Regions from separate parts of the Homo sapiens genome. Here all the other regions are linked to region 5. Evidence: promoter capture Hi-C in human tissues and cell types (Jung and others, 2019). All regions are on one chromosome and are shown on one strand. Each heading gives the region's core, a stretch centred on a gene start or on the middle of the fragment in contact. The rest is flanking DNA. Distances are from core to core; before and after follow the strand shown. Region 1 has its middle 78 kb from the start of ZNF431. Region 2 has its middle 160 kb from the start of LINC03085. Region 3 has its middle 67 kb from the start of LINC03085. Region 4 has its middle 180 kb from the start of LINC03085. Region 5 holds the start of ZNF728 (zinc finger protein 728).

Evidence for each region. The method cuts DNA at HindIII sites, captures the fragments that hold promoters and counts their contacts. A contact is called where the count stands out against the background at its distance.
Region 1: a contact is called between a fragment that was not itself captured here and the fragment with the promoter of ZNF728 in region 5, in 1 of the 25 tissues and cell types used here (dorsolateral prefrontal cortex).
Region 2: a contact is called between a fragment that was not itself captured here and the fragment with the promoter of ZNF728 in region 5, in 1 of the 25 tissues and cell types used here (dorsolateral prefrontal cortex).
Region 3: a contact is called between a fragment that was not itself captured here and the fragment with the promoter of ZNF728 in region 5, in 1 of the 25 tissues and cell types used here (dorsolateral prefrontal cortex).
Region 4: a fragment that was not itself captured here is called in contact with the fragment with the promoter of ZNF728 in region 5 in 1 of the 25 tissues and cell types used here (dorsolateral prefrontal cortex).

What each region holds. Positions count from the first base shown.
Region 1 is chr19:21,216,970-21,222,264 of GRCh38, forward strand. No RefSeq gene overlaps it. Among named protein-coding and RNA genes, the nearest start is that of ZNF431, 78 kb to the left of the region's middle. RefSeq lists an enhancer at 4,516-5,111. The HindIII fragment of the contact is 4,040 bases long and covers 845-4,884 here.
Region 2 is chr19:24,302,334-24,307,459 of GRCh38, forward strand. No RefSeq gene overlaps it. Among named protein-coding and RNA genes, the nearest start is that of LINC03085, 160 kb to the left of the region's middle. The HindIII fragment of the contact is 3,599 bases long and covers 25-3,623 here.
Region 3 is chr19:24,211,548-24,216,309 of GRCh38, forward strand. No RefSeq gene overlaps it. Among named protein-coding and RNA genes, the nearest start is that of LINC03085, 67 kb to the left of the region's middle. The HindIII fragment of the contact is 3,157 bases long and covers 1-2,944 here.
Region 4 is chr19:24,325,923-24,330,661 of GRCh38, forward strand. No RefSeq gene overlaps it. Among named protein-coding and RNA genes, the nearest start is that of LINC03085, 180 kb to the left of the region's middle. The HindIII fragment of the contact is 3,488 bases long and covers 1-3,388 here.
Region 5 is chr19:23,000,815-23,006,043 of GRCh38, forward strand. ZNF728 (zinc finger protein 728) reads right to left here and starts at 2,362. Exons shown (of 4, transcript NM_001267716.2): 1 at 2,214-2,362. The coding sequence starts at 2,216. The HindIII fragment of the contact is 10,079 bases long and covers 1-5,229 here.

The DNA of each region.
Region 1 (5,295 bases), core at 1,615-4,114, 1.8 Mb before region 5:
TCTAAAATTGTTTTTAGTATTAGTTTCTATAAAAAATGTTCCTTAAGCATTTTGAATTTTTGAAAAAGTTAAATACATGCTTTGGCAGTTTAGCTTTTCTGAATAATTTGAATAGAATAGAATAAATACATATCAAAATATTAATTTTTCTGGTAATGGATAACTTTCAGACTAAAAGAGTTAAACTTTACAAAATTGTATGCCGATCAATTTGATCAGAAGCCTCTTTCTTGGAACTGGAAGAGATGACACAAAGATGGTGCTTTCATGTTGGGTGGGAGAGAAATGGTTACCAGGGGCTACATCATAGTTGTTTCACTAATGAACATTGATTTTCATTGCTATTTTGTCTAAATTATGGTAATAATTAATGGCCTCGATCCAAAAAATTTTCTTAAAACTTAAGTTGTCAATCAGCCATAATATTAACCAAAAATGCATTAAAATGAAGGTATTTAAGTTATAATTTATATTTTCAAATTAAAATACTTCTGGAAATCTTTAAGGTTTTCTAGGTAGAGCATTATCAGTGAAGATAATTTAATTTCCTTTTTTTCTATTTAGATGCTTTTAATTTCTTTATTTTCTTGGATTGTTCTAACTAGGATGTCTAAAATTATGTTGAATAGGAGTGTTAGAATGGATATTTTTGTCTTATTTTTATTCTAATGGAGAATGCATGCAGCTATTGCCTTTTCAGTATAATGTTGGCTGAGGATTTTTAATACATGGCTCTTGCTATTTTGAGGTATGTTTTGTTAATGGTTTCTTTGTTGAGAATATTTTCATGAATGAATATTGGATTTCCTTGAGTGCATTTTCTGTGTCTATTGTGTTAATTGTATAATTTTTTAATTATCTGTACATGGTGAATTGCACTTACTGACTTGCATATGATTAAATATCTTTGCATAGGTGGAATTAAGCTCACGTGATTGTGGCAAAACGTTTTGATTTGCTTATGAACTCAGATTGCTCGTATTTCATGGAGGATATTTGTTTCAATGTTTACCAAAAATATTGGCCTGTAGTTTCCTTTTTTTGTTGTGCCTTCACTAGATTTTGGTATCAAGATAATATTGATTTTATAAAATGAGTTAGGGTGGAATTCCATCCTGATTTTTTGGAGTACATTCAGTAGTAGTACGAGCTCATCTTTGTATATGAGGTAAAATTTTGTTGTGATTTTACATAATCCAGGGCTTTTATGGTTGGTAGGTTTTTTATTACTAATTCAATTTCATCATATATATTTTATACATTTTTGCCCTGTTCAAGACTTCTGTTTCTTCCTGGTTCAATCTTGGAAATTTGTGTGTATCCAGGAGTTTATTTATTTTCTTAAAATTTTCTAGTTTGCAGGCATAGAGATGTTCATAGTAGTCTCTGATGATTTTTTGTATATATATAGAATTAATTGTGATTTCACATCTCTAACATTTAAATAGATGCAGAGTACAAAAGAATAGATGCACACAATGGAAGTTTGGCAAAATTTGACATTCCTTTATGATAAATCTCTGAAAAAATTTGTTATAGATCAAATTATTGGCACCTCAGCCAATAAGTGCCACATACAACCAAAAAATGCACAGGTAACAACATACTAAATGGGGATATGTTGCAAGATTTTACTCAAGAGCTAGAACAAGACAAGGATGCCCACTCATCCTTGCTAAAGTCAGTCTTACTAAACATAGAATGAATCTAAGGCAAAGAAATTAGAGAATAAAATCAAAGGCATCCAGATTGGACAAAAGGAAGTTAATTATTCCTGTGTAATTATCTTTTATCCTTATACATAATCTGAAGTATAGAAAACCCTAAGACTGGCTGGGTGCAGTGGCTCATGCCTGTAATCCCAATACTTTGGAGGCCGAGGCAGGCAGACCACCTGAGGTCAGGAGGATCGAGACCAGCCTGGCTAACATGGTGAAACCCAATCTCAACTAAAAATACAAAAAGAAAAAAAAAAAAGTTAGCCAGGCCTGGTGGCACAATACCTGTAATCCCAGCTACTCTGGAGGCTAATGCAGGAGAATTGCTTGAACCTGGGAGGTAGAGGTTGCAGTGAGCCGAGATCATGCCACTGCACTCCAGCCTGGGTGACAAACGTGAGACTCCATCTCAAAAAGAAAAGAAAAGAAAAGCCTAAGATTTTACTAAAAACTATTAAAAATAAACAAATTTATTAAGCTTTCAAAATACAAAAGTAACATCAAAGTCAGTAGCATTTCTACACATTAACTATCTCAAAATGAAAATTAAAAAACAATTTCATATACAATAACTATAGTAGTAAATTCAATACAAAGCAGAGAGTATACATTTGCTTTCAGCATTTTTGAGGCTTTTAGTTTTATACTAGTTACCTTGTTAAAATAATTTTTCCAATATTTCTTATGAAAATAAGTACAAACTTATACTAACACAGACTTACTTACTCCATCATTTCCTTACACCTAAAGTTTATCTCTACAGTAATGTATATTTAACCCTCTGTATATCAAACCTAAAAGTCTGTATGTGTTTGCAGGCAGACAGGACACAAGTTCAAATATATATATGTTTAAAATTTTAAGATATGTACTCAGAACTCAGAAATGTATGTATTTAATTTATACTTGCATATGATTTCTATAATAACCATAAAAATATCCCAGTAGTCAATAATAATTTAATCGTACTTTATTTTTTATTTCTTTTTTTGCTTGAGATGGAGTCTTGCAGTGTCACCTGGGTTGGAGTGGAGTGGTGCAATCTCAGCTCACTGTAACCTCCACTTCCCAGGTTCCTGGCCATCTCAAACTCCTAATCTCAGGTGATCCATCCGCCAGGGCCTCCCAAAAGTGCTGGGATTACAGGCGTGAGCCACTGCACCCGGCCATAATTGTACATTTTAAAATAAGTAAAAGTGTACAATTGGATTGTTTGTAATACAAAGGATAAATGCTAGAGGTGATGGATACCACATGTATCTCGATGTGAGTATTATGTATTGTATTTGTGTATCAAAATATGCCATATATGCCATAAGTATATACACTCATGTACCCACAGAAATTAAGAAAAACAAATTAAATGATTAAGAATAAAAATTTAACCTACAGGAACAATATTCTTTAACTTATTTGCAGTTTAAAGCCACTGGCAAAAGAGATGACTAAAGATGTTAGTCCATTATGTTACCAAATAGTATATTGTTAACATTTTTTACCTATATTTTTGGGCAAAGTGGAAAAGGTTAATCTTTGTGGTAAAATAACACTTCATTGAATGCACAATAGTATTTAACATGTTAAAAATGTTGAAACGATTAACTTCACACATAATCTAAAATTTTTAAAATGTACTGCATTTTATCATATAAAAGTACAATTAGTACAATATATGAATAATATACTACTAGTTTTCTCGTAATGCAAAGAATATCACTCTTAACACCTACCTCGTGCATCACTCAATAGTGTAAGTTAACCACAAAGAATCTCTCCACTTAGATTTTCATCATGCATCTTACATTCTAATATCCTTACTTGTACATAGAAAAGATCATAAATAATGCCCACCTAATGAAAAAGAATCTCTCATACCTTTGATGCAGCAAGAAATGATCACAAACTTTCACAAGTGAATAAGAATGAAGAAACAGCAGAAAATAATGACAGTTGAATTACATCATTTGCTTTCAAAAAATCTGTAATTTTTTCAAGAAATAAAGTATACTTTGAATGTAGTTATTACTCTGCAAAAAACTTTTACTCCTCTTAAAGTTATATACAAATAATTTTTATACCAACTTTAGTTTTAGATTATTTTCTATACTCAGAACTCTGATTTAGTATAACATCTGAAGTGTCAGTTCCTTATATATTTCTACTATAAATTCTCTGATATTTATGTAGACTTAAATTTGAATTAAATTTTTTTTTTCATTTTTACTGCATTTTCAAAAACATATTGTAGTATAAACTCTGGTGTTTTCTAAGCTGTAGTTTTTGAAAATTTGTTTTCCCAAATTTATTACATTTGCAAGACAACTCTTCAATATAAATTCCCTGATGTTGAACAAAGTTTAAGCAACTCCTTTAGAGTTTTCCTCTAGTACAAAATGTGGACAATAAGATCTGATACAAGTAAAGCTACTACAACCCTCTTTACACGTGTAATGCTCATCTTCAATATAAATCCTCTTCTTCACTTTAAAGAATAAGATTTTCTGAAAGGTCTTTTGACGGTAATTGCACTTATCATGCTTTTAGTAAGTATTAACTCTCTGGTGTTAGTAAGATGTGAGCAGATATTAATGTCTTTTTCACAGTCTATATTTGTACAATTTTTCTCAAATATGAATGCTTTTCTCTGCAATAAGGTGTGAGTATTAGTTAAAAATTTTGCCACCTTGTTCTCACTTGTAGGAATTTTTTCCACTATGAATTATATCACCTATAATCAAGTATGACAACCATTTAAAGACTTTGTCACATTCTTCACATTTCTAGGATTTCTCAGCAATATGATTTCTCTTATGGTTAGAAAAGTTTGAGGTATTGTCAAAAGCATTATCACATCTTTCTGATTTGTAGAGTTTCTCTCCAGTATGAATTATCTTATGTGTGTTAAGAACTGAGGACTAGCTAAAGCCTTTGCCATATTTTTCACACTCATGGGGTTTCTCTCCAATATGAATTTTCTTATGTTTATTAAGAATTGAGGACTGGTTAAAGGCTTTGTCACATTCTTCACATTTGTAGGGTTTCTCTCCTGAATGAATTATTTTGTTCAATAAAGTTTTAGGACTGGTTAAAAGCTTTGCCACATTCTTCACAGTTGTAAGCAGCTTATGTTATGTTTAGTAGGAGTTGAGGACTGGATAAAGGCTTTACCACATTCTTCACATTTGTAAGATTTTTCTCCAGTATGAGTTATGCTTAGTAAGTTTTGAGGATTGGTTAAAAGCTTTGCCACATTCTTCATATTTGTAGGGTTTCTCTCCAGCATGAATTAACATATGTGTAGTAAGGGTTGATGATTGGTTAAAATGTTTGCCACATTTTTCACATTTGTAGGGCTTCTCTCCAGTATAAGTTATCTTATGTGCAGTAAGTTGGGGGGACAGGTTAAAGGCTTTGCCACATTCCTCACATTTGTAGGTTTTCTCTCCAGTATGAATTATCTTATGTTTAGTAATGGATGAAGATTTGTTAAAAGCTTTGCAAGATTTTTCATATTTGTATAATTTCTCTCCCTTATGAATTATTTTATGTTTAGTAAGGTATGAGAATCAGTAAAAAG
Region 2 (5,126 bases), core at 574-3,073, 1.3 Mb after region 5:
TCAGCACTTTGGAAACAGTGTTTTTGTAGAATCTGCAAAGGGATATTTGGGAGCATATTGAGGCCTATGGTGAAAAAGGAAATATCTTCAGATTAAAACGAGAAAGGACCATCCTGAAAAACTGCTTCATGATGTGTGCATTCATTTCACAGAGCTAAACTTTTCTTTCAATTCTGCAGTTTGGAATGACTCTTTTTCTCCATTCTGTGAATGGACATTTGTGAGCTCATCGAGGGCAATAGCCAAAAAGCCAATATCCCAGGATAAAAACTGGAAGGAAGCTATCTGGGAAGCGACTTTGTCATGTGTGCATTCATCTCACATCATGAAACCTTTCTTTTTCATTTAGCAGTTTGGAAACACGGTTTTTGTAGAATCTGCGAAGTGATATTTGGGAGCACATTGAGGCCTATGTTGGAAAAGAAAGTATCTTCAGATAAAAACTGAAAAGAAGCTTTCTGAAAAACTGCTTTGTGATGTGTGCATTCATCTGACAGAGTGAAAACTTTCTTCTGATTCAGCAGTTTGGAAACACTGTTTTTATCCATTCTGCGAATGGACATTTGGGAGCTCATAGACACCAATGGCGAAAAAGTGAATATACCAGGATAAAACCTAGAAGGAAGCTATCTGAAAAACTGTCGTGTGATGCGTGAATTCATCTCACAGTGATAAACCATTCTTTCCATTAAGCAGTTTGGAAACACTGTTTTTGTAGAATCTGCAAAGGGATATTTGGGAGCACACTGAGGCCAATGGTGAAAAAGAAAATATCTTCAGATAAAAACTAGAAAGAAGCTTTCTGAGAAACTGCTTTGTGATGTGTGTATTCACTTCACAGAGTTAAAAGTTTCTTTTGAATCAGCACTTTGGAAAAACTGTTTTTTTCCATTCTGCAAATGGACATTCAGGAGCTCATTGAGGTCAATGGTGAAAGACTGAATATCCCAGGATAAAACCTAAAAGGAAGCTATCTGAGAAACCACTTTGCGATGTGTGCATTCATCTCACAGAGTTAAATTTTTCTTTTGATTCAGCAGTTTGGAAACACTATTTTTGTCCATTCTGCGAGTGGACATATGGGAGCTCATTGAGACCAATGGTGATTACACAAATGTCCCAGGATAAAAACTAGAAGGAAGCTCTCTGAGAAACAGCTTTGTGATGTGTGCATTCATTTCACAGAGTTTAAACTTTCTTTTGATTCAGCAGTTTGGAAATGCTGTTTTCCCAGAATCTGAGAAGGGATATTAGGGAGCTCATTGAGGCCAAAGTTGAAAAAGAAATTAGCTTCAGATAAAAACTGGAACTGAAAAACTGCTTTGTGATGTGAACATTCATCTCACAGAGTTAAATTTTTCTTTTAATTTAGCAGTTTGGAAACATTGTTTTTGCCCATTCTGCGAATGGACATCTGGGAGTTCTTTGAGACCAATGGCGATTATGCAATTATACCAGGATAAAAACTAGAAGGAAGCTATCTGAGAAACCGCTTTGTGAAGTGTGCATTCATTTCACAGAGTGAAACCTATCTTTTCATTCAGCAGTTTGGAAACACTGTTTTTGTAGAAATATCTAAGGGATATTTTGAGTGCATTGAAGCCTGTGGTTAAAAAGAAAATATACTCAGATGAAAACTAGAAAGAAGGTTTCTGAGAAACTGCTTTGTGATGTGTGCATTTATCTCACAGAGCAAAACTTTTCTTTTTATTCAGCCGTTTGGAAACACTGTCTTTGTCCATTCTGCAAATGGGCATTTTGGAGCTCACTGAGGTCAATGGCAAAAAAACAAATATCCCACGGTAAAAATAAGAAGAAATCTATCTGAGAAACCGCTCTGTGATGTGTGCATTCATCTCACTAAGTTAAACCTTTCTGTTGATTCATAAGTTTGGAAACACTGTTTTTCCACAATCTGCGAAGGGATATTTGGGAACATATTGAGCACTATGGTGAAAGGAAAATATCTTCAGATACAAACTACTAAGAAGCTTTCTGAGAAACTGCTTTGTAATGTGTTCATTCGTCTCCCATAGTCAAAACTTTCTTTTGATTTGTGAGTTTGGAAACACTGTTTTTGTCCTTTCTGTGAATGGATATTTTAGAGCTCATTGAGGCCAATGACAAAAAAGTGCAAATCCAAGGATAAGAACTACAAGGAAGCTATCTGAGAAACCGATTTGAGATGTCTGCATTCATCTTGCAGAGTTAAACATTTGTTTTCATGCAGTAGTTTGGAAGAACTATTTTTCTAGAATCTGCACAGTGATATTTGGGAGCGCATTGAGGCTTAGGGTGGAAAAGAAAATATCTTCAGATAAAAATTATAAAGAAGCTGTCTGAGAAAATGCTTTGTGATGTGTGCATTCATCTTACAGAGTTAAACCTTTCTTTTGATTCAGCAGGTTGGAAACCCTATATTTGTCCATTATTCGAGTGGATATTTGGCATATCATTGAGGCCAATGGCAAAAAAGCGAATATCCCAGGATAAAAGCTAGAAGGAAATTATCTAAGAAACCACCTTGTTGTGTGTGCATTAATTGCGCAGAGTTAAAGCTTCCTTTTCATTCAGCAGTTTGGAAATGCTTTTTTTTTGTAGAATCTGTGAAGGGATATATGTGAGTGCATTGAGGCCTATGGTAAAAAGAAAATATCATCTAGATAAAAAACTAGAAAGAGATTTTCTGAGAAACTGCTAGGTGATTGTCCATTCCTCTCACAGATTGAAACCTTCCTCCTATTGTAGCAGTTTGGTAACACCATTTTAGTCTATTCTGCGAGGGGACATTTTGGAGCTTATTTAGGCCAATAGCAAAGAAACGAATATCACAGGATAAAAACTAGAAGGAAGCTATCTGAGAAATGGCTTTTTGATGTGTGCATTTATCTCACAGAGTTATACCTTTATTTTGATTCAGTAGTTTGGAAGCACTGTTTTTGTAGAATCTGCAAAGAGATATTTGGTAGCACATTGACGCCTCTGGTGAAAAAGAAAATATCTTCGGATAAAAACTAGCAAGTAACTTTCTGAGATACTGCTTTGTGATGTGTACACTCATGTCACAGAGTTAAAACTTTCCTTGGATTCAGAGGTTTGGAAACACCATTTCTGTAGACTCTCTGAAGGTATATTTGGGAGTCCACTGAGGCCTAAGGTGAATAAGAAATTAACGTTGATAAAATGTAGAAAGAATCTTTCTGAGAAACCACTTTCTGATAGGTGCATGCATCTCATAGGGTTAAATGTTTCTTTACATTGAGCAGTTTGAACACACTGTTTTTGGAGAATCTCTAAAGGGATATTTGTGAGCGCATTGAGGCATGTGATGAAAAAAATGCCTTCAGATAAAAACTAGAAAGAAGCTTTCTGAGAAACTGCTTAATGAGGTGTGCATTCATCTCACAGAGTTAAACGTTTCTTTTGATTCAGCAGTTTGGAAACACTGTTTTGGTTCATTCTGCAAATGGACATTTTGGAACTCTTTGAGGCCTATGGGGAAAAAGCAAATATCCTTGGATAGAAACTAGAAAGAAGCTATCTGAGAAACCACTTTGTGATGTGTGCATTCATCTCACATAGTTAAACCTTTCTTTTCATTCAGCAGTTTGGAAACACTTTTTTTGTACAATCTGTGAAGGGATATTTGGGAGTGTATTGAGGCCTATGGTGAAAAAGAAAATATCTTCAGATAAAAAGGAGTAGGAATGTTTCTGAGAAACTGTTTCATGATGTGTGCATTCATCTCAAAAAGTTAAACCTTTCTTTTGATTCAGCAGTTTGGAAACACTATTTTTCTAAAATCTGTGAAGGGATATTTGGGAGTGCACTGAGGCCTAGGGTGAAAAAGAAAACATCTTCAGTTAAAACCTATAAAGAAGCTTTCTGAGAAACTGCTTTGGGATATGGGCATTCATCTCACAGACTTTAACCTTTCCTTTGATTCATATTTGGAAACACTGTTTTTTTTTTTAGATTATGCAAAGGGACATTTGGGAGCAATTTGAGGCCTATGGTGAAAAAGAAAATATCTTCAGGTAAAAACTAGAAAGAAGCTTTCTGAGAAACTGTTTTGTGATGTGTGCATTCGTGTCCCAGAGTTAAAATTTTCCTTTGAATCAGCAGTTTGGAAACACTGTTTTGTCTGTTCTGTGAATGGACACTTGGGAGCTCATTGAGGCCAATTGAGAAAAAGTAACTATCCCAGAATAAAAACTAGAAGGAAGCTATTTGAGACACCCCTTTATAATGTGTTCATTCATCTTGCAGAGTTAAACCATTCTTTTCAATCACCAGTTTGGAAAAACTGTTTTTGTACAATCTGCAAAGGGATATTTGGTAGCACATTGACGAGTATGGTGAAAAAAATCTTCAGATAAAAACTAGAAAGAAGGTTTCTGTGAAACTGAATTGGGATGTGTGCATTCATGTAACAGAGGTAAACCTTTCTTTTGATTCAGCAGTTTGGAAACACTGTTTTTGTCCATTCTGTGAATGGACATTTGAAAGCTCATTGATGAAAACAGCAAAAAAGCCAATATCCCAGGGTGAAAACTAGAAGGAAACTGTCTGAGAAACCACTTTGTGATGTGTCCATTCATCTCACAGAGTTAAACTGATCTTTTCATTCAGCAATTTGGAAACACTGTTTTTGTAGAATCTGCAAAAGGATATTTGGGAGCAAATTGAGGCCAGTGTTGAAAAAGAAAATATCTCCAGTTAAAAACTAGAAAGAAGATTTATGAGTAATTGCTTTGTGATGTGTGCTTTCATCTCACAGAGTTCAATCTTTCTTTTTATTCAGCAGTTTGGGAACATTGCTTTTCTAGAATCTGTGAAGGGATATTTGGTAGCGCATTGAGCCTTACGGTTAAAAACAAATTATCTTCAGATAAAAACTTGAAAGAAGCTTAGTAAGAAACTGCTTTGTGATGTGTGCATTCATCTCACAGACTTAAACATTTCTATTGACTCAGCACTTTGGAAACACTGTTTTTGTCCATTCTGCGAATGGATATTTGGGAGCTCATTGAGGCCAAAGGCAAAAAAGCCAATATCCCAGGATTAAAATTAGAAGGAAGCTGTCTTAGAAACCGCTTGGTGATGTGTGCGTTCATCTCTCAGAG
Region 3 (4,762 bases), core at 116-2,615, 1.2 Mb after region 5:
TAGGCCTCATTGCATTCCGAAGTATCCTTTCACAGATTCCACAAAAACAGTGTTTCCAAGCTTCCCAATAAAAAGGAAGCTTTATCTCTGTGAGACAAATGCACACATCACAAAGCAGTTTCTCAGAAAGTGTCTTTCTGGTTTTTATGTGAAGATATTTCCTTTTTTCACTCTCAGCCTCAAAGCGCTCCCAAATATCCCTTCACAGATTCTACAGAAACAGTTTATCCAAACTACTCGATCAAAAGAAAAGTTTAACTCTGTGATTTGAATGCACAAATTACAAAGCAGTGTCTCAGAAAGCTTCTTTCTAGATTTTATCTGAGGATAATTCCTTTTTCACCATAGGCCTCAATGTGCTCTCATAAATTCCTTGGCAGATTCTACAAAAGCAGTGTTTCCAAAGAGCACCATCAACAGAAAATGTAACTCTGAGATATTAATTTACACATCACAAAGAATTTTCTCAGAAAGCTTCTTTCTACTTTTCATTGGAAGATATTGTCTTTTTCACCTTGGTCCTCATTGTGTTTCCAAATATCCATTTGCAGATTCTAGAAAAACACAGTTTCCAAACTGCTCAATCAAAAGAAAGGATTAACTGTGTGAGATGAAGGCACACAGAAACAAAGCTGTTTCTCAGAAATCTTTCTAGTTTTTATGTGAAGATATTTCCTTTTTCACCATAGGCCTCATTGCATTCCCAAATATCCCTTCACAGATTCTACAAAAATAGTGTTTCCAAACTGCTCAATCACAAGAAATGTGTATCTCTGTGAGATGAATGCACACATCACAACCAGTTTATCAGAAAGATTCTTTCTAGTTTTTATCTGAGAATATTTCCTTTTTCACCATTGGCCTCAAAGGGCTCCCAAATATCCCTTATCAAATTCTACAAAAACAGTGTTTCCAAACTGCTCAATCAAAAGAATATTTTAACTCTGTGAGATGAATCCACACATCACAAACCAGTTTCTCCAAAAGAATCTTTCTGTTTTTTATCTGAATGTATTTCCTTTTCAACCATAGGCCTCAATGTGCTCAAAAATGTCCTTTCCCAGATCCTACAAAAACAGTGTTTCAAAACTGCTCAATCAAAGGAATGGTTTAACTTTGTGAGATGAATGCACACATCACAAAGCTGTTTCTCAGAAATCTTTCTGGTTATATCTAAGAACATTTCCTTTTTCACTATAGGCCTCAATCCATTCCCAAATATCCCTTCGCAGATTCTACACAGTGTTTCCATACTGCTCAATCAGCACATAGGTTTTACTATGTGAGATCAATGCATCCGTCACAAAGCAGTTTCTCAGAAAGCTTCTTTCTAGATTTATCTGAAGATGTTTCCTTTTTCTAAGTAGGCCTCAAAGCACTCCCAAATATCCTTCACAGATTCTACAAAAACAGTCTTTCCAAACTGCTCAATCAAAAGGAAGGATTAACTCTGCAAGATGAATGCACACATCAGAAAGCAGTTTCTCAGAAAGCTTCTTTCTAATTTTTATGTGAAAATACCTCCTTTTTCAACATAGGCCTTGAGGAACTCCCAAATATCCCTTTGCAGATTGCACAAAAAACAGTGTTTCCAAAATGCTAAATAAAAAGAAAGGTTTAACTCTGTGAGATGAAAGTACACGTCACAAATCTGTTTCTCAGAACACTTCTTTGTAGTATTTATCTGAAGATATTTCCTTTTTCACCATAGGCCTCAATGTGCTCCCAAATATCCCTTTGCATATTCTAGAAAAACAGAGTTTCCAAACTACTTAATCAAAGGAAAAGATTAACTCTGTGACGTGAAAGCACACACCATGAAGCTGTTTCTTAGAAATCTTTCTAGTTTTTATTGACGATATTTCCTTTTTCACCATAGGCCTCAATGTGTTCCCAAATATCCCTTTGCAGGTTCTACAAAAACAGTGCTTCCAAACTGCTCAATCAGAAGAAAGGTTTAACTCTGAGAGATGAATGCACACATCACAAAGCAGTTTCTCAGAAAGCTTCTTTCTAGTTTTTATGTGAAGATATTTCCTTTTTCAATGTAGGGCTCAATGCTTCCCATATATCCATGGACAGATTATATTAAAAGAGTGTTTCCAAACTTCTCAATCAAAGAAATCTTTAACTCTGTGAAATGAATGTACACATCACAAAGCAGTTTCTCAGAAATCTTCTTTCTACTTTTTATGTGAAGATGCTTCTTTTTTCACCATAGGTCTCAATGTGCTCCCAGAAATCCTTGGCAGATAGTACAAAAGCAGTGTTTCCAAGATGCTCAATCAATGGAAAGATTAAACTCCATGAGATGAATGGACACATCACAAAGCAGTCGATCAGAAAGCTACTTCTAATTTTTATCTGAGGATATTTCCTTTTTCACCTTAGGCCTCATTGCATTCTGAAGTATCCTTTCACAGATTCTACAAAAACAGTGTTCCAAGGTGCCCAGTAAAAAGGAAGCTTTATGTCTGTGAGACAAATGCATACATCACAAAGCAGTTTCTCAGAAAGTATCTTTCTGGTTTTTATGTGAAGATATTTCCTTTTTCACCATAGGTCTAAATATGCTTCCAAATATCCCTTCATAGATTCTACCAAAACAGTATTTTCAAACTGCTCAATCAAAAGAAAGGTTTAGCTCTGTGAGATGGATGCACACATCAGAAAGCAGTGTTTCAGAAAGCTTCTTTCTAGATTTTATGTGAAGATATTTCTTTTTCAGCATAGGCCTCAATGTGGTATCATAAATCCCTTCACAGACTTTATAAAAACAGTGTTTCCGAAGCACTCAATAAAAAGAAAATTTAACTCTGTGAGATGAATGCACACATCACAAAGCAGTTTCTCAGAAAGGTTCTTTCTAGTTTTCATCAGAAGATATTTTCTTTTTCACCATAAGCCTCATTGTGCTCCCAAATATCCCTTTTCAGATTCTAGAAAAATACAGTTTCCAAACTCCTCAATCAGAAGAAAAGATTAACCCTGTGAGATGAATGCACACATCACAAAGCAGTTTCTCAGCAATCTTTCTAGTTTTTATGTGAAGATATTTCCTTTTTCACCATAGGCCTCATTCCATTCCAAATATCCCTTCACAGATTCTACAAAAATGGTGTTTACAAACTGCTCAATCAGAAGAAAAAGTTCAATTCTGTTAGATGAATGTACCCATCACTAAGCAGTTTCTCATGAAGCTTCTTTCTATATTTATCTGAAGATATTCCTTTTTCACAGTAGGCCTCTATGCTCCCAAATATCCCTTCATGGATCCTGCATAAACAGTCTTTCCAAACTGCTCAGTGAAAAGAAAGTATTTACTCAGTGGGATGAATGCACACATCACACATCAGTATCTCAAAAAGCTTTTTTCTGGTTTTTATCTGAAGATATTTCTTTTTCCACCATAGGCGTCAAGGCACTCCCAAATATCCCTGTGGAGATTCTAACAAAACAGTGTTTTCAAACTGCTCAATCAAAGGAAAAGTTTATCTCTGTGAGACGAATGCACACCTCACAAGGCTGTTTCTCAGAAAGCGTCTTTCTAGTGTTTATCTGAGCATATTTCCTTTTTCACCATAGGCCTCAATGTGCTCCCAAATATCCCTTCACAGATTCTACCAAATCAGTGTTTCCAAACTGGTCAAACAAAAGAAAACTTTAAATGTGTGAGATGAATGCACACATCACAAAACAGTTTCTCAGAAAGCATCTTTCTGGTTTTTACCTGAGGATATTTCCTTTTTTGCCATAGGCCTCAATGTGATCCCAAATATCCTCTCACAGATTCGACAAAAAGTGTGCTTGCAAACTGCTCAATCAAAGGAATGCTTAACCTTTGTTAAACAAATTCAGACATTACAAGCAGGTTTTGAGAAATATTCTTTGTAGTTTTTATGTGAAGATATTTCCCTTTTCACCATAGGCTTCAATGTGTTCCCTTATATCCCTTGAAACATTCTACAAAAGCAGTGTTTCCAAACTGCTCAATCAAAAGACAGGTTTAACCCTGTGAGATGAATGCACACATCACAAAGCAGTTTCTCAGAAAACACCTTTCTGGTTTTTATCTGAGGATATTTCTTTTTCACCTTAGGCACCAGTGCACTCCCAAATATCCTTTCACAGATTTTACAAAAACTGTTTCCAAACTGCTAAATCAAAAGGATACTTAAACTATGTGAGACAAATGCAGACAACCCATAGCAGTTTCTCAGAAAGCTTCTTTCTAGTTTTTATGTGAAGATATTTCCTTTTTCACCCAAGTCCTCAATGTGCTCCAAAATACCCTTCACAGGTTCTACCAAAATAGTGTTTCTAAGATGCTCAATCAAAAAAAGGTTTAACTCTGTGAGATGAATGTACACCTCACAGAGCAGTTAATCAGAAAGCTTCTTTCTAAGTTTTGTCTGAGGATATTTCCTTTTTCACCACAGGCCTGATTGCGTTCCTAAGTATACTTTTGCAGATTCTAGCAAAACAGCGTTTCCAAACTGTTCAATAAAAAGGAAGTTTTATCTCTGTGAGATGAATGCACACATCACAAAGCAGTGTCTCAGAAAGCTCCTTTCTAGTTTTTATCTGAAGATATTTCCTATTTCACCAGATTCCTCAATGTGCTCCCAAATGTCCCTTCACAGATTCTACAAAAACAGTGTTTCCACACTGCTCATTGAAAAGAAAGGTTTAACTCTGTGAGATCAATGCACACTTCACAAACAGATTCTTGGAAAGCTTCTTTCAAGTTTTCATTTGAAGA
Region 4 (4,739 bases), core at 395-2,894, 1.3 Mb after region 5:
AGAAAAGAACCTACATGAAATAAAGTTGAATTATCAAGGACGGGTTCCCCGATAATTTTCATTCATCAGTTTGGAAACACTGTTTTTGTAGGATCTGTGAAGGGATATTTGGCAGCACATTAAGGCCTATGTTGAAAAAGAAAATATCTTCATACAAAAACTAGAAAGAAGCTTTCTTAGAAACTGCTTTTTGATGTGTGCATTCATCCCACAGTGTTAAACCTTTCTTTTGATTCAGTAATTTGAAAAAACTGCTTTTGTGGATTCTGCAAATGGACATCTGGGATTTCATTGAGGGCAATGGTGAAAAAGTGAATATATCAGGAGAAAAACTAGAAGGAAGCTGTCTGAGAAATTGCTTTGTGATGAGTGCATTCATCTTGAAGAGTTAAACCATTCTTTTCATTCAGTAGTTGGGAAACACTGTTTTTTTAGAATCAGTGAAGGAATATTTGGGAGCGCATTGAGGCCTACAGTGAAAAAATCTTCAGATAAAAACTAGAAAGAAGAGATCTGAAAAACTGCTTTGTTATGTGTCCATTTATTTAACAGAGTGAAACCTTTCTTTTGATTCAGCAGTTTGGTAACACTGTTTTTGGCGATTCTGCGAATGGACATTTAGGAACTCATTGAGGCCAATGATGGAAAAGTGAATATCCCAGAATAAAAACCAGAAGGAAACTATCTGAGAAACCACTTTGTGATATGTGCATTCATTTTGCAGAGTGCAACCATTCTTTTCATTAAGTGGTTTGGAAACACTGTTTTTGTAGGGTCTGCGAAGGGATATTTGGGAACGCATTGAGGCCCATGGCAAACAGAAGATATCTTCAGATAAAAAGTTGAATGGAACTTTCAGAGAAACTGTTTGTGATGTGTACATTCATCTCACAGAGTTAAACCTTTCTTTTGATTCAGCAGTTTGGAACCACTGCTTTGGTCCATTCTGCAAGTGGACATTTGGGAGCTCATTGAGGCCAATGACAAAAAAGTGAATATCTCAGGAGAAAAACTAGAAGGAAGCTATCTGAGAAACCACTTTGTGATGTGTGCATTCATCTCACAGAATTAAAGGCTTCTTTTAATTCGGCAGTTTGCAGACACTGTTTTTATAGGATTTGTGAAGTGATATTTTAGAATGCATAGAGGCCTATGGTGAAAAGGAAAATATCTTCAGATACAAAATAGAAAGAATCTTTCTGAGAAACTGCTTTATGATGTGTGCATTCATCTCACAGAGATAAACTTTCTTTTCATTCAGCAGATTGGAAACGCTGCTTTTGTAGAATCTGCAAACTGATATTTGGGAGCTCATTGAGGCCTATGCTGAAAAAGAATCTATCTTCATATAAAAGCTAGAAAGAAGCTTTCTGAGAAAGGGTTTGTGATGTGTGCATTCATCACACAGAGTTTAACATTTGTTTTGATTCAGGAATTTGGAAACACTGTTTTTCTCCATTCTGCAAACAGACATTTGGGAGCTCATTGACGACAATGGCAAAAAAGTGAATATCCCAGGATAAAAACAAGAAGAAGCTATCTGAAAAACCGCCTTGTGATGTATACATTCATCTCACAGAATTAAGCATTTCTATTCATTCAGCAGTTTGGAAAAACTGCTTTTGTAGAATCTGTGATGGGATATTTGGGAGTGTTTGAGATCTATGGTGAAAAAGAAAATATCTTCATAAAAAACTAGAAAGAATCTTTTGGAGAAGATTGCCACATGTGCATTCATCTCACATAGTTAAAACTTTCCTTTGATTCAGAGTTTTGGAAACACTGTTTTTGTAGAATCTGTGAAGGGATATTTGGGAGTGCATTGAGGTCTATGTTGAAAATGAATATATCTTCAGATAAAAACTAGCAGGAAGCATTCTTTAAACTGTTTTGTGATGTGTGCTTTCATCTCTCATAGTTAATCCTTTCTTTCTATTTAGCAGTTTGGATAAACTGTTTTTGTCCATTCTGCGAATGCACATTTGTGAGCTCATTGAGGCCAGTGGTGAAAAAGTGAATATCCCAGCATAAAAACTAGAAGGAAGCTATCTGAGAAACCTCTTTGTGACGTGTGTATTCGTCTCACAGATATAAACCTGCTTTTTCATTCGGCATTTTGGAAACACTGTTTTTGTAGAACCTGCAAAGGGATATTTGAGAATGCATTGTCTATGGTGAAAAAGAAAATGTCTTCAGATAAAAACTGAAAATGTTTCTGAGAAACTGCTTTGTGATGTGTGCCTTCATCTCACAGAGTAACCATTTCTTTTAATTCAGCAGTTTGGAAAAACTGTTTTTGTCCATTCTGTGAATGGACATTTGGGAGCACATTGAGACCAATGGAGAAAAAGTGAATATTCCAGGATAAAGACTAGAAGGAAGCTATCTGAAAAATCACTTTGTCATGTGTGCATTCATCTCACAGAGATAAACCATTCTTTTCATTAAGCAGCTTGGAATATCCATTTTTGTAGAATCAGCAAAGGGATAGTTGGGAGGCCATTTATGCCAAAAGTGAGAAAGCGAATATCCCAAGATAACTTTTAGATGGAAGCTGTCTGAGAAACCCCCTTGTAATATGTGCATTCATTTCACAAGGTTAAACTTTTCTTTTCGTTCAGCAGTTTGGAAACACTGTTTTCATAGAAGCTGCGAAGGGGTATTTTGAATTGCATTGAGGCCTAGGGTGAAAAAGAAAATATCTTGAGAGAAAAACTAGAAAGATGCTTTCTGAGAAACTGTCTTGTGAGGTCTCCATTTATCTAACAGAATGAAAGCTGTCATTTGATTCAGCAGTTTGGAAACTCTGTTTTTGTCCATTTTCCGAATGGACATTTGGGAGCTCATTGAAGACAATGGCGAAAAAGCAAGTATCCCTGGATGAAAACTAGAACAAAGCTATCTGAGAAATTGCTTTGAGATGTTTGCATTCAGGTAGCAGAGTGAAATATTACTTTTCAATCAGCAGTTTGGAAACACTATTTGGGAGCGAATTGAGGCCTGTGGTGAAAAAGAAATTATTTTCAGATAAATACGGAAAAGAAGCTTTCTTGGAAACTGCTTTGTGATGTGTGCTTTCATCTCACACAGTTAATCCTTTCTTTTCATTCAGCAGTTTGGGAACACTGTTTTTGTAGAATCTGTGAAGGGATATTTGGGAGCAACTTGAGGCCTATGGGAAAAACAAAATATCTTCAGATATGAACTAGAAAGAAGATTTCTGAGAAACTGCTTTGTGATGTGTGCATTCATCCCACAGAGTTAAACTTTTGTTTTCATTCAGCAGCTTGGAAACACTGTTTTTGTCCATTTTGTGAATGGATGTTTTGGAGCTCATTGAGGTCAATGGCAAAAAAGCAAGTATGCCAGGATAAAAACTACAAGGAAGCAATCTGAGAAACTGCTTTGTGATGTGTGCATTCATCTCACATAGTTAAACTTTTCTTTTTATTCAGAAATTTGGAATCACTGTTTTTGTAGAATCTGCAAAGGGATATTTGGGAGTACATTGAGGCCTATAGTGAAAAATAAAATATCTTCAGAGAAAAACAAGAAAGAAACTTTCTGAGAAACTACTTTCAGGTGTGTACATTCATCTCACAGAGTTAAAACTTTTATTTGATTGAGCAGTTTGGAAACACTGTTTTGGAAGTATTGCAAAGGTTTATTTGGGAGCCAATTGAAGCCTATAGTGAAAAATGAAGTACCTTTAAATAAAAACTAGAAAAAAGCTTTCTCAGAAACTGCTTTGTGATGTGAGCACTCTTCTCACAGTGTTAAACCTTTCTTTTGATTGAGCAGTTTGGAGACACTGTTTTGGTGGAATCTGCGAAGGGATATTTGGAAGCACTTTGAGGCCTATGATGAAAAAAGGAAATATCTACAGATAAAAACTAGAAAGAAGCTTTCTGGGAAACTTATTTGCCATGTGTGCATTCATCTTACAGAGTTAAACCTTTCTTTTGATTGAGCAATTTGGAAACACTGTTTTTGTAGAATCTGCTGAGGGATATTTGGGAGCGCTTTGAGGGCAATGGTGAAAAAGGAAATATCTTCAGATAAAAACTAGAAAGAAGCTTTCTCAGAAATCGTTTTGTAGGGTGTGCATTCTTCTCACAGAGTTAAACGTTTGTGTTGATTGAGCAGTTTGGAAATACTGTTCTTGTAGAATCTGCGATGGGATATATGGGAGCACATTGTGGCCTATGTTGAAAAATGAAATATCTTCAGAGAAAAACTAGAAAGAAACCTTCTGAGAAACAGCATTGTTATGTGTTTATTTTTCTAACAGATTTAAACTTTTCTATTGATTGAGCAGTCTGGAAACACTGTTTTTTTTAGAACCTAAGCAGGGATATATGGGAGAGCATTGAGGCCTATGGTGAAAAAGTAAATATCTTCTGAGAAAAACTGAAAAGAAGCTATCTGAGAAATGGCTTTTTGATGTGTGCATTCATCTCACAGAGTTAAATCTTTCTTTTGATTGAGCAGTTTGGAAACACTGTTTTGGTAGAATCTGCGAAGGGAAATTTGGGAGCACTTTCAGGCCTATGGTGAAAAAGGAAATATCTTCAGATAAAAAGTAGAAAGAAGCTTTCTGATAAACTGCTGTGTGTAGAATACATTCACCTCACAGAGTTAAACTTTTGTTTTGATTGGGCAGTTTGGCAGCAGTATTTTTGTAGAATCTCAGAAGAGATATTTTGTAGCACTTTGAGGCCTAAGGTGAAAAATGAAAT
Region 5 (5,229 bases), core at 1,112-3,611:
CCAAGATTGCACCACTGCACTACAGCCTGGGCGACAGAGGAAAACACTGTCAAAAAAAAAAAAAAAAAAAACCAAAAAAAAAAAAACCCTGAGGTCAAAATAAGTGAACAATGCATTTAATCATGTCAAGGTACGGATATGTCTGACTCATGTGTCAAGTCAGGCCATCCAATTACTTGAGAGATTCTCCCACCCCATCCTGTTCACTTAAGTGCTCAATAATCATTCTCTCAGGAGACTCTGAACTATGCCCCAGAGTGCCCCAGGTATATTTTACTTTGCAAGTTTTTGCACCATCTCACTGGGGTCAGTTGTTTTTGTCTTTGGAGTGCTATTTTATTTCACAAACCTTTTACCATTTTTATTTCACTATTTTTCTGTCCCCTAAGAGAATGCAGGGGCAAAAATTATTTTGGTTTCCCCTTCAATACCAGCATCTGATTGTCTGAACAGCAATGTGTCTCCAAGAAATGGAAGCTGGGTTGGGTAAAGACAATATTAATATCTCAAGGGAGTAGCTTTCCAAAAAAACAGCACACCAGAAGATGACTCAGCCACAGTGCATTCACCTGCTCTCTTGAGAAGCTACGCTTCATATCTCAGGTTGTCTTATGGGAGATCAGAGGCTACACTCCATACCTCAGGTTGTCTTATGGGAGAAAAAGACCCAGGAGCTGATATTCACTAGACACTCTCACAGACATAGCCATGGCGGGTATCTTGGTTTTTCCCCAGACAGTACTGAATCTCAAGTCCAAGAAAAAACTGAAGGGTGGCTGAGGACACATCTCCCTATAAAGTTTCCAAAGGGAAATCTTGACCCAAAAACATTGTGATATCTGTGTCTACGGAAAACAGAAGAAAAAATATTTACAAACAGAAAACAAATCTTTTTAAATGTGCCATCAAATGCTTTGTCAAAAAATGATTAAAATAGGTATCAAAATGTACACTAAACTATTTGTTGATAATATGAATAAGGGAGGGGAAATTGGCATTTGGGAATGTCAGAAGGAAGTGAAAATCAAGTATTTTACTGCAAGCCAGAGTCAGGCCGGAGAAATAGGGGATGGGGGATGGACTTGAGGCCCTACTTGGGACACATGTGAAAAATGCAAGGAAACAGCAGTTCCCTGTGGGGTGTGAAAATAATTAAGTGGCTGGCAGTTAGACTGAGGAGGCTGTAGTTCCTAATTTCTACTTTTAAAAAATCTAATTCGGCCAGGCGCGGTGGCTTACACTTGTAATCCCAGCACTTTGGGAGGCCGAGGCAGGTGGATCACTTGAAATCAGGAGTTCAAGACCAGCCTGACCAACATGGTGAAACCCCATCGCTATTAAAAATACAAAGTTAACGGGGCGTGGTGGCGCATGCCTGCAATCCCAGCTACCTGAGAGGCTAAGGCAGGAGAATCGCTTGAACCTGGGAGGCGGAGATTGCAGTGAGCCCAGACGGCGCCATTGCACTCCAGCCAGGGCGACAGAGTGAGACTTTGTCTCAAAAAAACTAATTCAAATGCATTTTTTGTAAATTACTATATTGGGGGAAAAAATTCAGGCTTAACAAACTATAAACTGCCAATTAACCTCTGATTACATAACCAAGAAATTTCCATCTTGATAGTACGAATTAAGAAACTACGTAACTGTACCTAACCAATTATCGAATTTGGTTTTCTTCATTAGGCACCTTATAAAACTCTTCCGTCAAACCTCTTCAATAGACCATAAACTACAACCCATAGCTGGGTGCTCTACAATTTTGGAATCACTCTTTGGTTAAATTATTTAATATTTGTGCGGTGACTTCTGCAAATTTTTAATAGGAGAAAACAGGGGCTGGGAACCTCACGGACCAAAGCTCTTTCCATTCTTGAACCCACACGCCGAGTCAGGATTCTCCTGTGACGACCCTCCCATGCTCCCTGCACATCTGAGAGAGACTCCGCGCTGCGGGTGCAGAGCGGCCCCAAGAGGGCTCCAGGCCAGGGCACAATCACAGCGCAGGGAAAAGACAGGACGCCCGGGGACCGGGTGTCAGCGCAGCCGCCATCTTATGCCTGAAGCGGACTGAGGTCGAGCTAGGCAAGGAGAACACGGGGCACAGATTGTGGAGCTGACTGAGAGGAGGCCTGAGTCCCGCCACAGCCACTTCCCACCGGTTCCAACCAGCGGCTGCCACTCTCTCGGGATGTCGGACCCGGCTGACTCACCATTTCTAGGCTTCCGGGGGTCCTGGCGACTTAGTTGTGAATCTCCCAATACCTGCAGGTCACAGGGCCATAGAAGCTGGGCCTTTAGGAGCGGACGACACACAGCAGTAAGGACGACACCTTGACCTCCGCGTGCAGCGAGAGCCAACGGTCCTACCACATCCCGGAAGCCGCCCTGTCCGCTCCAGCTGCGTGCCTGATTGGACGGTCCCAGTCCAGCGTCCCTGATTGGATAATGTTTAAGGCCCCGCCCCTTCAGGCCCTGAGTGACGGAAGATGTTATCAGATGCTGGGCTGACTGAAGAAAGAGTGCCAGCCCAGTCTGCCGCAAAGGCCGGGCGTGATGGCTTACGCCTTTAATCCCATCGGTTTGGGAGGCGGAGGCGGGGGGATCACCTGAGGTCAGAAGTTCAAGACTAGCCTGGTCGACCTGGTGAAACTCCTTCTCTACTAAAAATACAAAAATTAGTTGGGCGTGGTGGTGGGCGCCTGCAATCCCAGCTACTCAGGAGGCTGAAGCAGGAGAATCATTTGAACCCAGGAGGTGGAGGTTGCAGTGAGCCGAGATCGGGCCATTGCACTCCAGCCTGGGCAACAAGAGTGAAACGCCATCTCAAAAAACAAAACAAAAAACCCTAATTTTAGTAAAATCTTATAAATAAATCCATCAAATTTGTCATTTTTGAACGCTCTAGATTTTCATATATATTTTATAATCTCTTTTTTTTATTTGTTTATCTTTTTGAGACAGTCTCCCTCTGCCGCCCAGGCTGGAGTGCAGTGGCAGGATCTCGGCTAACTGAAAGCTCCGCCTCCCGGGTGCAAGTAATTCTCCTCCCTCAGCCTCCCCAGAAGCTGGGATTACAGGCGCCCGCCACCACGCCCTGCTAATTTTTGTTTTTTTAGTAGAGACAGGGTTTCACCACGTTGAGGCCAGGCTGGTCTGAAACTACTGACAGGCAATCCGCCCACCTTGGCTTCCCAAAGTGCTGGGATTACAGGCTTGAGCCACGGCGCCCGGCCTTATAAACGCTTATAATTTTTTAACTCTTTCGATTTTATTAGACTTTTTTTTTTAACTTGAAACAACCTTTATTTTATTTTATTTGAGAGTCTTGCTCTGCTGGCCAGGCTACAGTGCAATGGCATGATCTCAGCTCACTGCAACCTCCCCCTCTTGGGTTCAAGCGATTCTCCTGCCTCAGCCTCCCGAGTAGCTGGATTACAGGCGCCCTCCACCACACCCAGCTAATTTAGCATGGTGGCCTGAACCTGTAGTAGCAGCTATTCAGGGGCTGAAGTAGGAGGATTGCCTGAGCCCAGGAGGTTGTGTCTGCAGTGAGCCCTGATCAAGCCACTGCACTCCATTCTGGGTGACAGAGTGAGACCCTTTCTAAAAAAAAAAAAAAAAAAAAGCCAAAGCATATAAACTTAAACTTATGAGAGTTTGGGGGTTTTATTTTTGTCTTAAATTATTATATTTCAATAGTTTTGGGGTACAGGTAGTATTTGGTTACATGGATAAGTTCTTTTGTGGTGATTTCTGAGATTTCGGTGCACCAATCTCCCAAGTAGAGTGCGCTGTACCCAATGTGTACTCTTTCATCCCTCATCCCCTCTCCCACCCTTCCCACTGAGTGCCCAGAGTCCATTATGTAATTCTTTTTAATTTTTAATTTTTTTTTTTTTGAGACAGAGTTTCACTTGCCTCGGCCTCCCAAAGTGCTGAGATTACAAGCGTGAGCCACCGCGCCTGGCCCCATTTTGTAATTTTTATGCCTTTGCATCTTCATAGCTTAGCTCCCACTTATAAGTGAGGACATACAATATTTGGGGTTTTATCTCTTTTTTTCTTTTCTTTTCTTTTTTTTTTGAGACGGAGTTTGCTGTAATTACAGGCATGAGCCACCATGCCTGGCCTAGTTTTTGATGTTTTGATTATGGTCTTTTCTGTTTGTTTGTTTGTTTGTTTTTGATGGAGTCTCGCTCTGTCGATCTCGGCTCACTGCAACCTCCGCCTCCTGGGTTCAAGCGATTCTCCAGCCTCAGCCTCCCGAGTAGCAGGGATTACAGACCCATGCCATCGTGCCCTGCTAATTTTTGTATTTTTAGTAGAGGCGGGGTTTTACCATGTTGGCCAAGCTGGTCTGGAACTCCTGACCTCAGGTGATCCACCAGTCTCGGTCTCCCAAAGTGCTGGGATTACAGGCATGAGCCACCATGACCAGCCAATTATGGTCATTCTTGCGAGAGTAAGGTGGTATCACGTTGTGGTTTTGATTTGCATTTCCCTGATCATTAATCATTAGTGATATTCAGCATTTTTTTTCTATGTTGGCTATTTGTATATCTTCTTTTGAGAATTGTTTAAGTCCCATCTGTCTTTGTTTTTGTTGCATTTGCTTTGGGGTTCTTGTTCGTGCACTCTTTGCCCAAGTCAATGTCTGGAAGAGTTTTTCCAATGCTTTAGAATTCGGGTGGTTTCAGGTCTTAGATTAAAGTATTTGATCCATCTTGAGTTGATTTTTTTATAAGGTGAGAGATGAAGATTCTTTTTTTTTTTTTTTTGAGACGGAGTCTCACTCTGTTCCCAGGCTGGGGTGCAGTGGCACGATCTCTGCCTCCCGGGTTCAAGCAATTATCTGCCTCAGCCTCCCGAGTAGCTGGGATTACAGGCACCCGCCACCACACCCGGCTAAATTTTTTTTGTAGTTTTAGTAGAGACGGGGTTTCACCATCTTGGCCAGGCTGGTCTTGAACTCCTGACCTCGTGATCCACCCACCTCGACCTCCCTAAGTGCTGGGATAACAGGTATGAGCCACTGTGCCCAGCCGAAGATCCAGTTTTATTCTTCAATATGTGGCTTCCCAATTATGCCAGCATTTATTGAATTGGGTGTTCTTTCTCCACTTTGTATCTTTGTTTACTTTGTCAAAGATCAGTTGGCTGTAAATATTTGGGTTCATTTCTGGTTTCGCTATTCTGTTTCATTGGTCTACATGTCTATTTTTATAC